3 separate regions of the Homo sapiens genome follow, and all the other regions are linked to region 3. Evidence: promoter capture Hi-C in human tissues and cell types (Jung and others, 2019). All regions are on one chromosome and are shown on one strand. Each heading gives the region's core, a stretch centred on a gene start or on the middle of the fragment in contact. The rest is flanking DNA. Distances are from core to core; before and after follow the strand shown. Region 1 holds the start of P4HTM (prolyl 4-hydroxylase, transmembrane). Region 2 holds the start of DALRD3 (DALR anticodon binding domain containing 3). Region 3 overlaps PRKAR2A (protein kinase cAMP-dependent type II regulatory subunit alpha).

What was found. Contacts are between HindIII fragments. The study calls those that stand out against the background at their distance.
Region 1: a contact is called between the fragment with the promoter of P4HTM here and a fragment that was not itself captured in region 3, in 3 of the 25 tissues and cell types used here (liver, mesendoderm cells and psoas muscle).
Region 2: a contact is called between the fragment with the promoter of DALRD3 here and a fragment that was not itself captured in region 3, in 1 of the 25 tissues and cell types used here (aorta).

Annotation. Positions count from the first base shown.
Region 1 is chr3:48,987,845-48,992,281 of GRCh38, forward strand. It overlaps P4HTM (prolyl 4-hydroxylase, transmembrane), which reads left to right and starts at 2,397. Exons shown (of 9, transcript NM_177939.3): 1 at 2,397-2,766; 2 at 2,989-3,070. The coding sequence starts at 2,413. It overlaps LOC124909376 (a long non-coding RNA gene), which reads right to left and starts at 2,028. Exons shown (of 2, transcript XR_007095903.1): 1 at 1,704-2,028. RefSeq lists enhancers at 1,117-1,680, 1,681-2,243, 1,991-2,150, 2,808-3,369 and a silencer at 2,261-2,640. The HindIII fragment of the contact is 19,056 bases long and covers 1-4,437 here.
Region 2 is chr3:49,016,673-49,020,517 of GRCh38, forward strand. It overlaps DALRD3 (DALR anticodon binding domain containing 3), which reads right to left and starts at 1,908. Exons shown (of 12, transcript NM_001009996.3): 1 at 1,728-1,908; 2 at 1,351-1,646; 3 at 941-1,197; 4 at 762-841; 5 at 556-684; 6 at 102-175; 7 at 1. The coding sequence starts at 1,892. MIR425 (microRNA 425) reads right to left here and starts at 3,562; the gene lies at 3,476-3,562. It also overlaps a transcript of NDUFAF3 not described here. RefSeq lists enhancers at 329-398, 684-1,455 and a silencer at 904-1,138. The HindIII fragment of the contact is 18,150 bases long and covers 1-3,845 here.
Region 3 is chr3:48,818,084-48,822,157 of GRCh38, forward strand. All of the region lies in intron 1 of PRKAR2A (protein kinase cAMP-dependent type II regulatory subunit alpha), which reads right to left. Among named protein-coding and RNA genes, the nearest start is that of PRKAR2A, 28 kb to the right of the region's middle. The HindIII fragment of the contact is 9,279 bases long and covers 1-4,074 here.

The sequences.
Region 1 (4,437 bases), core at 1,147-3,646, 170 kb after region 3:
CCTGGGCGACAGAGCGAGACTCCACCTCAAAAAAAAAAAAGAATACAGATCAATAGAAGGCCTGGATTTGGTAGTATGTATTGTCATGGCATCAAAGGGCCAGGCTTTTAAAAGACTGAGAAATTCTGGTTTCTGATGTGGTTGTGAAATTCCCACAGCTGACAGCAGGTGGAGCAGCCCTGCAACCTGCTTGCTTTCTGTTGTCTGGCAATGAGCTATCAGTACCTGTGCTTAGTGGTAGGCCTAGTTCAGGTAATAGGTGTAAGAATGGAGTTCAGGAAAATAGGTTAAGCAAAGTACAGATTTTATGGTGATCAAATTCTAGTTTTTAAAAGGCTAGAGGGGCCGGTCGCGGTGGCTCATGCCTGTAATCCCAGCACTTTGGGAGGCCAAGGCGGGCGGATCACGAGGTCAGGAGTTTGAGACCAGCTTGGCCAACATGGTGAAACCCCATCTTTATTAAAAATATAAAAATTAGCTGGGCGTGGTGGCACGTGCCTGTAATCCCAGCTACTTGGGAGGCTGAGGCAGGAGAATTGCTTGAACCCGGGAGGCAGAGGTTGCAGTGAGCCGAGATGAAGCCACTGCACTCCAGCCTGGGTGACAGAGCAAGACTCTGTCTCGGGGAAAAAAAAAAAAGGCTAGAGGGAAATAGTCTCAACTTCATTCCAGAAAAGGTATGAGAAAGCCATGAGATCCTTGGTAAAATTATGGTTCTGTTGGTTGGTTTATTATATTTAAGAATTTAGGAGATTTGGTCTGGGTGTGGTGCCTTATGTCTGTAATTCCAGCACTTTGGGAGGCCAAGGTGGGTGGAACACCTGAGGTCACGAGTTTGAGACCAGCCTGGCCAACATGGTGAAACCCTGTCTCTACTAAAAATATAAAAATTAGCCGGGCATTGTGGCGGGCACCTGTAGTCCCAGCTACTTGGGAGGCTGAGACAGGAGAATTGCTTGAACCCGGGAGGCGGAGCTTTCGGTGAGCTGAGATCACACCACTGTACTCCAGCCTGGCGACAGAGCGAGACTCTGTATCAAAAAAAAAAAAAAAATTATAATTAAAAAATTAAAACTAAATAATAATAAATAAAAATACAAAAAAAAAAATTGGCCCGCCATGGTGGCGCATGCCAGCTACTTGGTAGGCTGAGGCAGGAGAATTGCTTGAACCCGGAAGGCAGAGGTTGCAGTGAGCCAAGATCGCGCCACTGCACTCCAGCCTGGGCGACAGAGTGAGACTCCGTCACACACACACAAAAAATCTTAGAAGAAAGAGGTGGGCCTGCCCTTGGAGCCCCTGGCCTGCCTTGACTTGAGGGGACTAGAAAATGCAGACTATGCTTTGCTATGGGGAAGGGAGAGGAGATGGGAGTAGAGGTAGTGGGGGTCTTAACCAGGGTAGGGAGAAACCACCAGTGTGACCTGCCTTAAAAGTGTTGCTCTTGCCTGCAAGTCCACCTCGGGGAGGGGGGTCAGCTTCTGCCCTGAGGGCGTGTAGTAATCTCTTCCTGAGGATAACCAGCTCTAGAAGAGCAGGGATGCCTTGGCACTTGACCACTGGTAGGTATGTCCTCCCCCCACCCCCGTTTTTGGTGATAATCTGTTTAATTTTTCTCTGAGGTAATGGTGTCTCAGTTATGGAAGAGTCCCTTCCCGCCTCTTCACACGTGCCAGCTTTGATGCAAGGAGTGTTCCATATACCTGAGCACTGGTTCATTCCTGCGGGCTGCCATGGGGGGCTCACTTTCCTGATGCCAGGGCTCCTCCAGGATGCCCCCTCTGACGGCCTATGAAACCTTGCACATCAGGCAGCTTCTTCCTAAGGCCTGCCTGACTCCGGCGAGACTTCCCGGGAGATCCGGACCGACCGCGGAACCGAGCTCCAAGAATGCCTGCGAGGAGGCTGTGGGTCCTACCCTATCGCCGCTTACGCAGTCCCAGCCTCCGCGGCGCCCCCAAATGCCGCACTGTTGAGTCATCTCAGCGCTGCCTCCTCCGCGCTGCGCTCCCCACCCCCGCTCCTGGAGCAAGAAGATGCAGACGATACTTTTCCCGGAGGCAAGAGGGCGTCTTCACGCAGGCACCGAGAAGCTCCCACTAGTGTATGCCTTAATGGTGCCGCTCTTGTCCGCGTCTACGCTTGGGACCTTGGCTTCTGACTTGGAGAGTGTACAGCTCTGCCCGACGGCAACCCAGCTTGGGAAGAGAAGCCCCAGCGTGGGCTGGGGCTCAAGGCGCAGGAAGGCCGAGCCCGGCGCGGACGCAGGCGGCTCCGGGCGGGCTCAGCACCCCCAGGCACCGTCTCCTAGTGACCGCGGCGCTCGCGGGCCTGGCGGCCGTTGTCCGGGCGACTGCGCAGCGCGGGCACCCCCGCGGCCCCTCCCCTGGGCGCGCGCGCGACCTGGGTGCCATGGCGGCAGCGGCGGTGACAGGCCAGCGGCCTGAGACCGCGGCGGCCGAGGAGGCCTCGAGGCCGCAGTGGGCGCCGCCAGACCACTGCCAGGCTCAGGCGGCGGCCGGGCTGGGCGACGGCGAGGACGCACCGGTGCGTCCGCTGTGCAAGCCCCGCGGCATCTGCTCGCGCGCCTACTTCCTGGTGCTGATGGTGTTCGTGCACCTGTACCTGGGTAACGTGCTGGCGCTGCTGCTCTTCGTGCACTACAGCAACGGCGACGAAAGCAGCGATCCCGGGCCCCAACACCGTGCCCAGGGCCCCGGGCCCGAGCCCACCTTAGGTCCCCTCACCCGGCTGGAGGGCATCAAGGTGAGGACCTCCCTGCCCCGCCGCGCTCCAGGCCCTGCACGGCTGAGCCCGAGAGGACCGGCGCTCAGCCCGGGTCCCCACGCTGCCCCCGGCGCTGCTCTGCGTCGGTCCCGCGCGCTCCCACTCACTCGCCTGCTGTCGCTCTCCGGGCCGGGGCGACTTGGCCCTTCTTGGGCAGCGCGGTCTGGCGCCCCAGCTGCCCGCTGTGCGCCTTTTCCTTAGGTGGGGCACGAGCGTAAGGTCCAGCTGGTCACCGACAGGGATCACTTCATCCGAACCCTCAGCCTCAAGCCGCTGCTCTTCGGTAAGTCCGCCAGATACTCCTGGGAAGGGCCAGGGGCTGCGGTTTGGTGGCCACCTTGAGGCTCGTTGTGACCACGTGACCTCTATTTTGAAAATGGCTGCTTCAGAGCAGCCCTTCCAGAGGATTACCAAAGTGAAGGACCTTCCCCGTCCTCGAAATAGGGTAACACTCCCTCTTATCCCAACTCCCTGCAGTCCATTCTTCCATCACAGGGCTGGCAGGGTGAGCCTGAGGCTGGTGTCTAAACGTTTCATTGCACCTGTCTTCCGTGCCACCATTAATTCTGTCACCTTCTAGAACTGGGAGGAAGGTGGGAGACTGATAACCAGCTTTCTGCCGACCTCAGGACCTCTGGGGAAAATCCCACTGCCGAAGTGGGCCTTGTGGTCTGATGAGAAGCAGGCCGTCCAAATGTAGATAAACTGGTACCCCCCCAGCCTCCTCCACTGGAGTACCAGTCAGAGGCTCAGCTTTTGCTGCCAGCACTCTGAGATTCTTCTTAAGGTGAAGTCTTTGTTCAGCCATCATGGGCAAAGCTTTCTAGGGTGACTCCAGTTGGAGCCACAACATAGCTCATCGTTTCTGAGCTCTAGTTATGTGCTTGCCTTCATATGATTATTTCATTTAATTCCTGCAACCCCTCTGTGAAGTGGGTGTAGATCCTACTCAGGCCAGTGAGGGGGAAAGTTAGGGACAGAGAGCTGCTGTGGCTTGGCCAGGCTGACACGGTTACTTCAGTGGTGAAGCTAGGATTAGAACCCACATAGCCTGCCTCTAAGGCCTATGCAGTAAAGCCACAGTGCGAGCTGTGAAGACCCCAGAGTCCTTCAAAGACCACCAGTGTCAACTGGGTGGGGACCCCTAGTCCCATGGACATTGTCCAGGGTGTTTGTGTAGCCCAGCCCTGGGTACCTGGCCTCCGTGACAAACATATTTGCAAACCCAGGGCCATTCCTGCCTGCCGGGGGATGGAATGGGTTAGGAGCTGGGGCCAAAGTAGAACATCTGAGCACAAGTCATTACCTCCAAGGCAGAGGGTCCTGGTTGGGGATTATGCCTAGACCTGTCAGAATGATGTCATATGCATGCTGTTTGTAGGGAAATAGATTATGCTGTCAGTCCTGTTGTGGGAGAGGCACCCAAAGCTGGTTGTTGTTATTATTACTATTACTATTGAGTAACGTTGAAGTCTGTGCCAGGCACTATTTTAGGTGCCAGGAACACAGCATTGAACTAAATATAAACAATGAAACAAAACCCTGAAGCTGACATTCAAATGAAGAGGAAACAGACAATAAACAAACAAATAAATATATACATTGGTGTGTCAGATGGTGATATGTGATTGCAAACAAGTAAGGCAGATT
Region 2 (3,845 bases), core at 658-3,157, 200 kb after region 3:
CCTGTGTTTGGAAGAGAGGAAGGCCAGTGGGCAGGGTCCTGGGTAAAGAGTCCCCCCTCATTACCCTGGCTTAGGTTGGTGTTCCTCCCAGCCTCACTCACTCGTAGTACTCAGGGGCAGTCATCAGAGTGCCAGGTGCACCAGCTACTTTCACAGGGCCACAGATGAGGTGCTTCTGTCAGAAAGATGTCAGGGGCTCAGCCTAGTTGGCGCTACTCTCCAGGAAGTCCCTTGAGGAGCCCAAATCTGGTGCCTCTACTCAGCCCAGACTCCCTCAAATTGGAACTGCCAGGTTGAGTGCCTCCGTCTACCCAGCCACTCAGGCTACGCATGGTTCATCCTTCTCAACCTGGTCTTCAGTGTTCTTGGGATGTGTCTACAGACCCCCCTTCCCCAGAGCCTCTGCACCTGCTGTACATGCCCTCTCAAGTCCAGCAACTCCCCCAAGGTCAAGTGTTGGTTTCTGTCAGCTAACAAGCCCCTCGGTGGGTTTTCAAGGGCCCTCTGAGGTTGGGGGTTAGGTGGTGGGGAGCTCCACCATCATTATTAACCTACCTGTCTGAGTGGAGCCTTGTCAACCAACTTCTGCCAAAGCAGGTCCAACTTCTGTTGCTGGAACTCCTCCTCACAGCTAACAACATGTACAACCAGGCAGCCGCCTGTACCAGTATCTGAGGCCCCAGCCTAAGGGAGGACAATCATAACTGTGGAAGTACAGTATACTTGGTTTGGGAGAACCTACAGGGCTGGGAGTCACTAACCAGGCCTGGGTGGCTGTCCTCGGGCCAATGCCATAGAGCCTCTTGCAGCTCAGCCAGCACAGAGAGGAGATCCTCAGTCACTGAAAAGAGAACAGACAGGTGCTGAGACTGACAAGAAGCAGAGATGTGCCCCTAACCCCCTCCTGCCTTTTCTGGCCCTGCTAGGCTTCAGGTCCTACCCAGACAGTTGTCCAGGTTGGGGTCATAGCCAGCTGTGCGGCCCTGTTCTTCCACCAGCTCCTTCAGACACAGTCTGCCTAGGATGCCAGGGGACAGTGTCCTCCCGTCATTAGCAGAGGTAAGTTCTTCAAGGGCGTGGCTCCTCAGGGTGTGGGAGGAAGCTCTCTCCGAGGCAGCGGGCCAGTCCACCCGCAGTTGCTGCAGGAAGGTCAGCATGTGCGGATCCCGCACAGCTGGCACTAGGCGCACGCACACCCTGCGAAGGGAGGGCGGCCGCCTCAGTCTGAGCACCTGGTCCAGCTCGCCACGACTTCCCACCTCCAGCCGCAGTCCCCACGGGCGGCGCCGCTCGCTTTCTAGGTACCCGGCAGTCCCACTTTCTCCATTCCGGCCCCGCGGCCCCGCTCACCCGTGAGCGCGCAGGGCTCGCGCCAGGTGATCGGCCACGAGCACCGTACGCAGCTGGCTCAAGCGGAGTGCGCAGGGGGAGCTGCGCAGTGCTGGGCAGTGTAGTAAGACGCGCTGGCCCAGCGAGGCAGGCGAGGCGGGCGTGGCATAGGCGGCCACGGCGCTGAGGACGCGCTCGAAGACGGCGGACCGCTGCAGTTGGAGAGACAGACCCGCGGGGGTCGGCGCGCAGCGCAGCACCGGGGCCACACCGGGGCCCTGCAGGCAGGCGAGGGCATGGAGCAAATGCTCCGGAACCTGCGGGAGAACGGGCGTGTAAAAGAGCCACGGCACGGGGCCCATCTCCCGGCCGCACGGCCCCGCCCGGCTCACGCCCACCTGGCCGTCATCGAAGCGCGCCTGCAGCGCGCGGTGCGGTGCCAGAAAGTCTCGGGAACGCAGGTGGCGGGTGCGCGTCTCCTTGATCCACACCGGACCGCCTGGCCCCAGGGCCGCGTTGAGGGCCCCCAGCGTCTCCCCGACCCCAAGGCGCCTGGTCGCCATGGTGACCGGAAGGAGTAAGCGGAACCGGAAAAAAATTTAGGGAGGTGGAACTTCCGGAAAGGACCGACTAGCTGGGGCGGGGATGCGGCGGTGGTCCCCGTAAGTGGACAGGTGCGCCAGTGGTAGCCCTGTCGGCTGCTTTCGACCTACCGCCCCCAGCGCCCCTTCCGCGTGGTCCACCTGCACAGCCGGGCCCCGGATCTGAAATCTCGGGGCCCTCCCTGGGCCTAGGGTTCTTTCGCTGTGACCCAGGCCTTAACCAGGAAAAGGATCCTCGCGACCCGGTGGGCGCTTAGACCGGGTACCGTCTCTTCTCATCGAAGTCTCACATGTTTGTTTTAATAACATTTCATTTCTCCCATTTTACACATGATGAATATTCGTCACTGGAATAAGGCAGTATAACATTAAGGCCACTTTCACGACCTACTTAAAATATCTCGTTTTAAAAAGAATAGTGTTCCGCGGTTTCAGGTTATTTGCAAGCATTTTCTCGTTTGAGATATGGGTGTTTTTTTGTTTGTTTGAGACGGAGTCTTGCTCTTGTCTCCCAGGCTGGAGTGCAGTGGCACGATCTCGGCTCACTGCAGCCTCCACCTCCCGGATTCACAGGATTCTCCTCCTCAGCCTCCCGAGTAGCTGGGATTACGGGCGCCCGCCACCACGCCCGGCTAATTTTTGTATTTTTAGTAGAGACGGGGTTTCGCCATGTTGGCCAGGCTGGTCTCGAACTCCTGACCTCGTGACCTGCCCGCCTCGGCCTCCGAAAGTGCTGGGATTACAGGCATCAGCCACTGCACCCAGCCCGGGTGGTCTTTATGCCCAATAAATAAGCACTCTGATACAGTTGGCGGTTTTCTTCTCTTGATACCTGAGAAATCACAACCATCATGATGGCTTCCAGAATTACCAGACTTTTTTTTTTTTTTTTTGAGACGGAGTTTCGCTCCTGTTGCCCAGGCTGGAGTACAGTGGTGTGATCTTGGCTCACCGCAACCTCCCCCTCCCGGGTTCAAGTGATTATCCTGCCTCAGTCTCCCAAGTAGCTGGGATTACAGGCACGCGCCACCACGCCCGGCTACTTTTGTATTTTTAATAGAGACGGGGTTTCTCCATGTTTGTCAAGCCTCGAACTCCCGACCTCAGGTGATCCGCCTGCCTCGGCCTCCCAAAGTGCTGGGATTACAGGCGTGAGCCACCGCGCCCGGCTCAGAATGACCAGCTTTTAATGTGACTCCTTTAACCTGGTGTGCTTTAACAACGATCCTTAAAGCTTCCTGTTTTAGGCAACAGCCATTTACGGGCCAACCAAATAATGCGACCATAATAGAAAATAGGCCTCAGTTGGAGTATCTTGCTCCTCTACCAATAGGAAAGGTCTTTTTCTTTCTCCCACAAAGGTTCCCAAATGTCTTCATTTCACTGTAACTTACTCACCCCCCACCCCACCCCCATTCCTTTTAATAGAGAAGCTAACTCAGTAGAGAGAGTTGGGAAATCCGGAGAGCAGGGAAACCCAGGGGCAGGAAAAGCTTGGCAAGGCCCCTTTCTGGGCCAGGGCTGAGGCCCTGCTGGGAGGCGCCGAAAGAGCACTGGGCGGACACGACATTCCCGATGGCTTCTCGGGTGCCCACTCAACGGGAGTGATCGTGTCATTCCAAAGCGCTTTCCATTCTGAAGGTGCATGACCTGGAGACAACTGCTTAGCAGGGTTGGGAACCCTCAGTCAAACTGAGGACTTCAGATACTCTCATCCACGAAGACGGTTGGGGTGGTTTTTCCCCAGGAAGTAAGAGGGCTATCTTTAGCGAGATGCGGGCTGAGGCAGCCCTGGGGGAGTCACTACCATTGCAGCCCTACCCAGAGGTCCTGGGTCCACCCTCCCTCGCCAATCCTCCCCAGGGTTCCAGAGATGGCCACCAGCCTCGGCTCTCCCACGTCTACACCCATCAC
Region 3 (4,074 bases), core at 1,149-3,648:
AAAGGTACCATCTAACAAACTCTACTATCTCAGCTGCCCTCTGCTCTGATGCAAAGTTGTAAAGAGGCAGATCAGATTTCTCTATCATTTACATGCCAGCCAGGCAGGTAGGCACTTCCAACCATACCCAAGGCATCCTGTTAAAAGCAAAAATCAGCCTATTAAGAAACCAAAAGCCGAAGAGCTGCCCTGCCGAATTATTTGTACAAGAATTATCTGCTATATTTTCAAATAATCAAAACTATACCACTAATCTTTAGTCTGTCATTTTACAATATAAGCCATTCATTTTTAATATCTGACAACACTCTGGAGAACAAAGCAAGGGTAACAGTAATAAGATTTCACCACAAAAGACAGGTTTGCATTCTAGCTTCAGAACTTAAACCTGGCCAGGTGCAGTGGCTCACACCCATAATCTTTGGGAGGCCAAGGCAGGGAGGACTGCTTGAGCCCAGGAGTTCGAGACAAGTTTGGGCAACAGAGTGAGACCCTGTCTCTACAAAAAAAAAATGTTTTAATTAGCCAGGCACAGTGGTGTGCACCTACAGTGCCAGCTGCTTGGGAGGCTGAGGTGGGAGGATGGCTTGAGCCAGGGAGCTTGAGCTGTGATTACACCACTGCACTCCAACCTGGGTGACACAGCAAGACCCTGTCTCAAAAAAAAGAAAAGAGAACTTAAACTTCTCTGAGCCTCAGTATTCTCACAAATTCAATAAGGGTAGTACTACTTACCACAAATGACCCGAGGGCAGACTTAATGACCCTATGTATAGAAGTACTGAGACAGTAAAATGTTAGGGATATCATAGTTTTGTGGAGGGTTTGTTTGCTGGTTTTTCAAAATTATCTATCTTTAAAATACTGCAGTTTCACATTTTTTTTCACAGCTGCTATTCTGCCACGTATACCCTGTTCAAACACTTTTTTTTTTTTGAGACAGAGTTTCGCTCTTGTTGCCCAGGCTGGAGTGCAGTGGTGCAATCTCTGCTCACTGCAACCTCCCACTGCAACCTCCGCCTCCTGGGCTCAAGCGATTCTCCTGCCTTAGCCTCCCAAATAGCTGGGATTACAGGCGCCAACCACCACACCTGGCTAATTTTTGTATTTTTAGTAGAGACAGGATTTCACCATGTTGGCCAGGCTGGTTTCGAACTCCTGACTTCAGGTGATCCGCCAGCCTTGACCTCCCAAAGTGCTGGGATTACAGGCATGAGCCACAACGCCCACCCTCAAACATTTTTTGTTAGTTACAATTTTTGAGTCCCACTACGTGCAAGTATTATGCCAACCATTTTAAATGCATCATCACATATACCCTTCACAACAACCCTATTACCATCCCATTTTGTAGCTGAGGAGACTGAGACTCAGAGAATTGTACCCAAGGTCACACAGCTAGGAAGTGGTCAAGCCAGAATCTGAGTCATCTAAATTTGACAACTGAGGAAAAGTAAAAGTGTGAATCAATAAAATACTTGTTTTACATTTTTTGAAATAAATTCCACCATTCCATTATTTAATTATGGATCCTTAGCAATATAATGTTTATTAGAATCCCCCCAGCTTTTTCCTGTGGAAGGATCATGTTGCCTGTTTGCTTACTGCTGCCCCTACCAGACAGATGATAAGCTCCTATAGTCAAGTGCACTTTTATCCTCCCCTGTCCCAGTGCTGACCAGAGTGGACATCTGCTGAAATAACACAGGAAGGCAGTGGGGAGGCTGAAGGCCACAACAGTGTTCAGCCATACCACTGTGTCAACCCACCTCCTGTGACACTACTCCAAACCCCTACCTTCTCCTAGTTAGGTAACCAGAGTTATCCTTTAGGAGTGGCCTCTCACAGATGTGAAGTCCTTGTGGGACTTCACTCCCAACTCTGCCTACTACTTCCAATTTGGTCATAGGATAGGGTGCATGATCCAAGCCAGGCAAATCAGTGTTCTTAAGCATGGTAACTTGCTTGGAACAAGCATAGAACATTCATGGTAACTTATTCCAAAAACGGAATATGACCCAACCCAAGCCATTCCTTCTCTGGAATATTCTAAACTGGGGATACAGAATAGCTCGCTCTTTAGTTTGGATCAGGAACTGCTTTAGGCACTGTGGAGCCAATGGAGTAGATCTACCGCAAGGGAATAAGAGGGTCATACATGCATTTTGGAAAGATTATTCTAATAATAGTATCACCAATGGAATAAGACACGGAGTGGGAAGACCAGTAATGGGCCTACTGTAATATTCCTGACAAAAAAATGAAGAAAGCTTGAATGGTAACGGGAATGGAGAAAAGGGAACACATTAGGAAACATTTGGGGATTGCCTTTTGTCTCACTGGAAATACTGTCCTAAAACAGAGAACCTGACTCCTTAATTCTCTTGCACATAGATGACTACTGTGAACACTCGATTCATATGATAAGTACTTACCAAGTACCTAGAAACCAGTAAGAATGAAGTAGTTATAAGCATAGATTCTGAGCCAGGCTGCTTGGGTTCAAATCCAGTCACCTCACTTACTAGCAGTGTGACCTTGAATAAGTTACTTAACCTCTGTGCCTCACTTTCCTCATCTATAAAACCAGGATAATAATAGCACCTACCTCATAGGGTTGCTGCTGTGCAGAAAAGGAAACCCTTGAACTGGTTGATAAAAGACAAGTAGCAGTTCAGCAGAGAAACAAGAAGGGGAGGACAGCATTCCAGGCAGAAGGGAAGGCATATGCAAAGGAAAAGAAATGTGAAAAAGTGAGCTTGACTCATGACCATTGTGCTCTCCAGACCCACATTCCCAATGTTGGCTAAATGCCAGCTGGAACTCCAACTCCCTGAGTTGGACCTGAAATTCAATAGGTCCAGAATAGAACCAATAAACTTCACAGTTCCTGTTACTCCAGGCTCCCTATGTCAGGGGCAATGCCATGACCATCTCCAATCACACAGTTTTAATTACTCCCCCATTTACTCCTAAACACAGACTGTAACAGTAGGACAAGGGTGGAATGATTAGTCCAGCGTAAGCCATGCCTCACAGAAAGAGAAAGAACGTCTCCCTAAGTATAGGATCTGACTGTGGCAAGATCAGAGCAAGGAGTGGTGGGGATTGTGGGTCAAGTCAGAGATGACACAGAGCACTACTTACCCAGGGGCAGAAACTTCAACTCTAGGAACACCAGCTATCCAGACCTAAAAGGATCATTCTCTGCTGTAAAGACCAGCTTTGCTTCATGCTCCCAGAACTAGGGAAATACCTCCTCCTACCCATCCCCACTCCCTTCCAGCTATTGCTATTTTTCCTGTTACAATTCTGTATTTTCCAATCAAAACTCTTACTGATAATCCAATTTCCCAAGAATTTTTAAATATGCAAGTTCCCTGGTTTTTAGAGATATGAGTTCTTGAGAGATATGAGTTCTAGGATCAATAGAAATGATTAAACAACCAATTACAGTTATCACACCAGACACTAGATATTTAGCATACATTATCTTTAAGTTTTACCACACCCTTGAAAGACAGTCAAGAACTCCCTTTTGAATGGAAACAGGACCAGGCACAGTGGCTCACGCCTGTAATCCCAGCACTTTGGGAGGCCGAGGCGGGCGGATCGCGAGGTCAGGAGTTTGAGACCAGCCTGGCCAACATGGTGAAACCCTGTCTCTACTAAAAATACAAAAACTAGCCGGGCATGGTGGTGTGCACCTGTAGTCCCAGCTACTAGGGGACTGAGGCAGCAGAATCGCTTGAACCTGGGAGGTGAAGGTTGCAGTGAGCCGAGATTGCACTACTGCACTCCAGCCTGGGCGACAGAGCAACACTCCATGTCAGAAAAAAAAAAAAAAAAGAATGAAAACAGGGCCAGGCGCAGTGTCTCACGCCTGTAATCCCAGCACTTTGGGAGGCCAAGGCGGGCAGATCACTTGATGTCAGTTCGAGACCAGCCTGGCCAACATGGCGAAACCCCATCTCTAATATAGCTGGACATGGTGGCGCATGCCCGTAATCCCAGCTACTCAGGAGGCTGGGGCAGGAGAATCCCTTGAACCAGGGAGGCAGAGGTTGCAGTGAG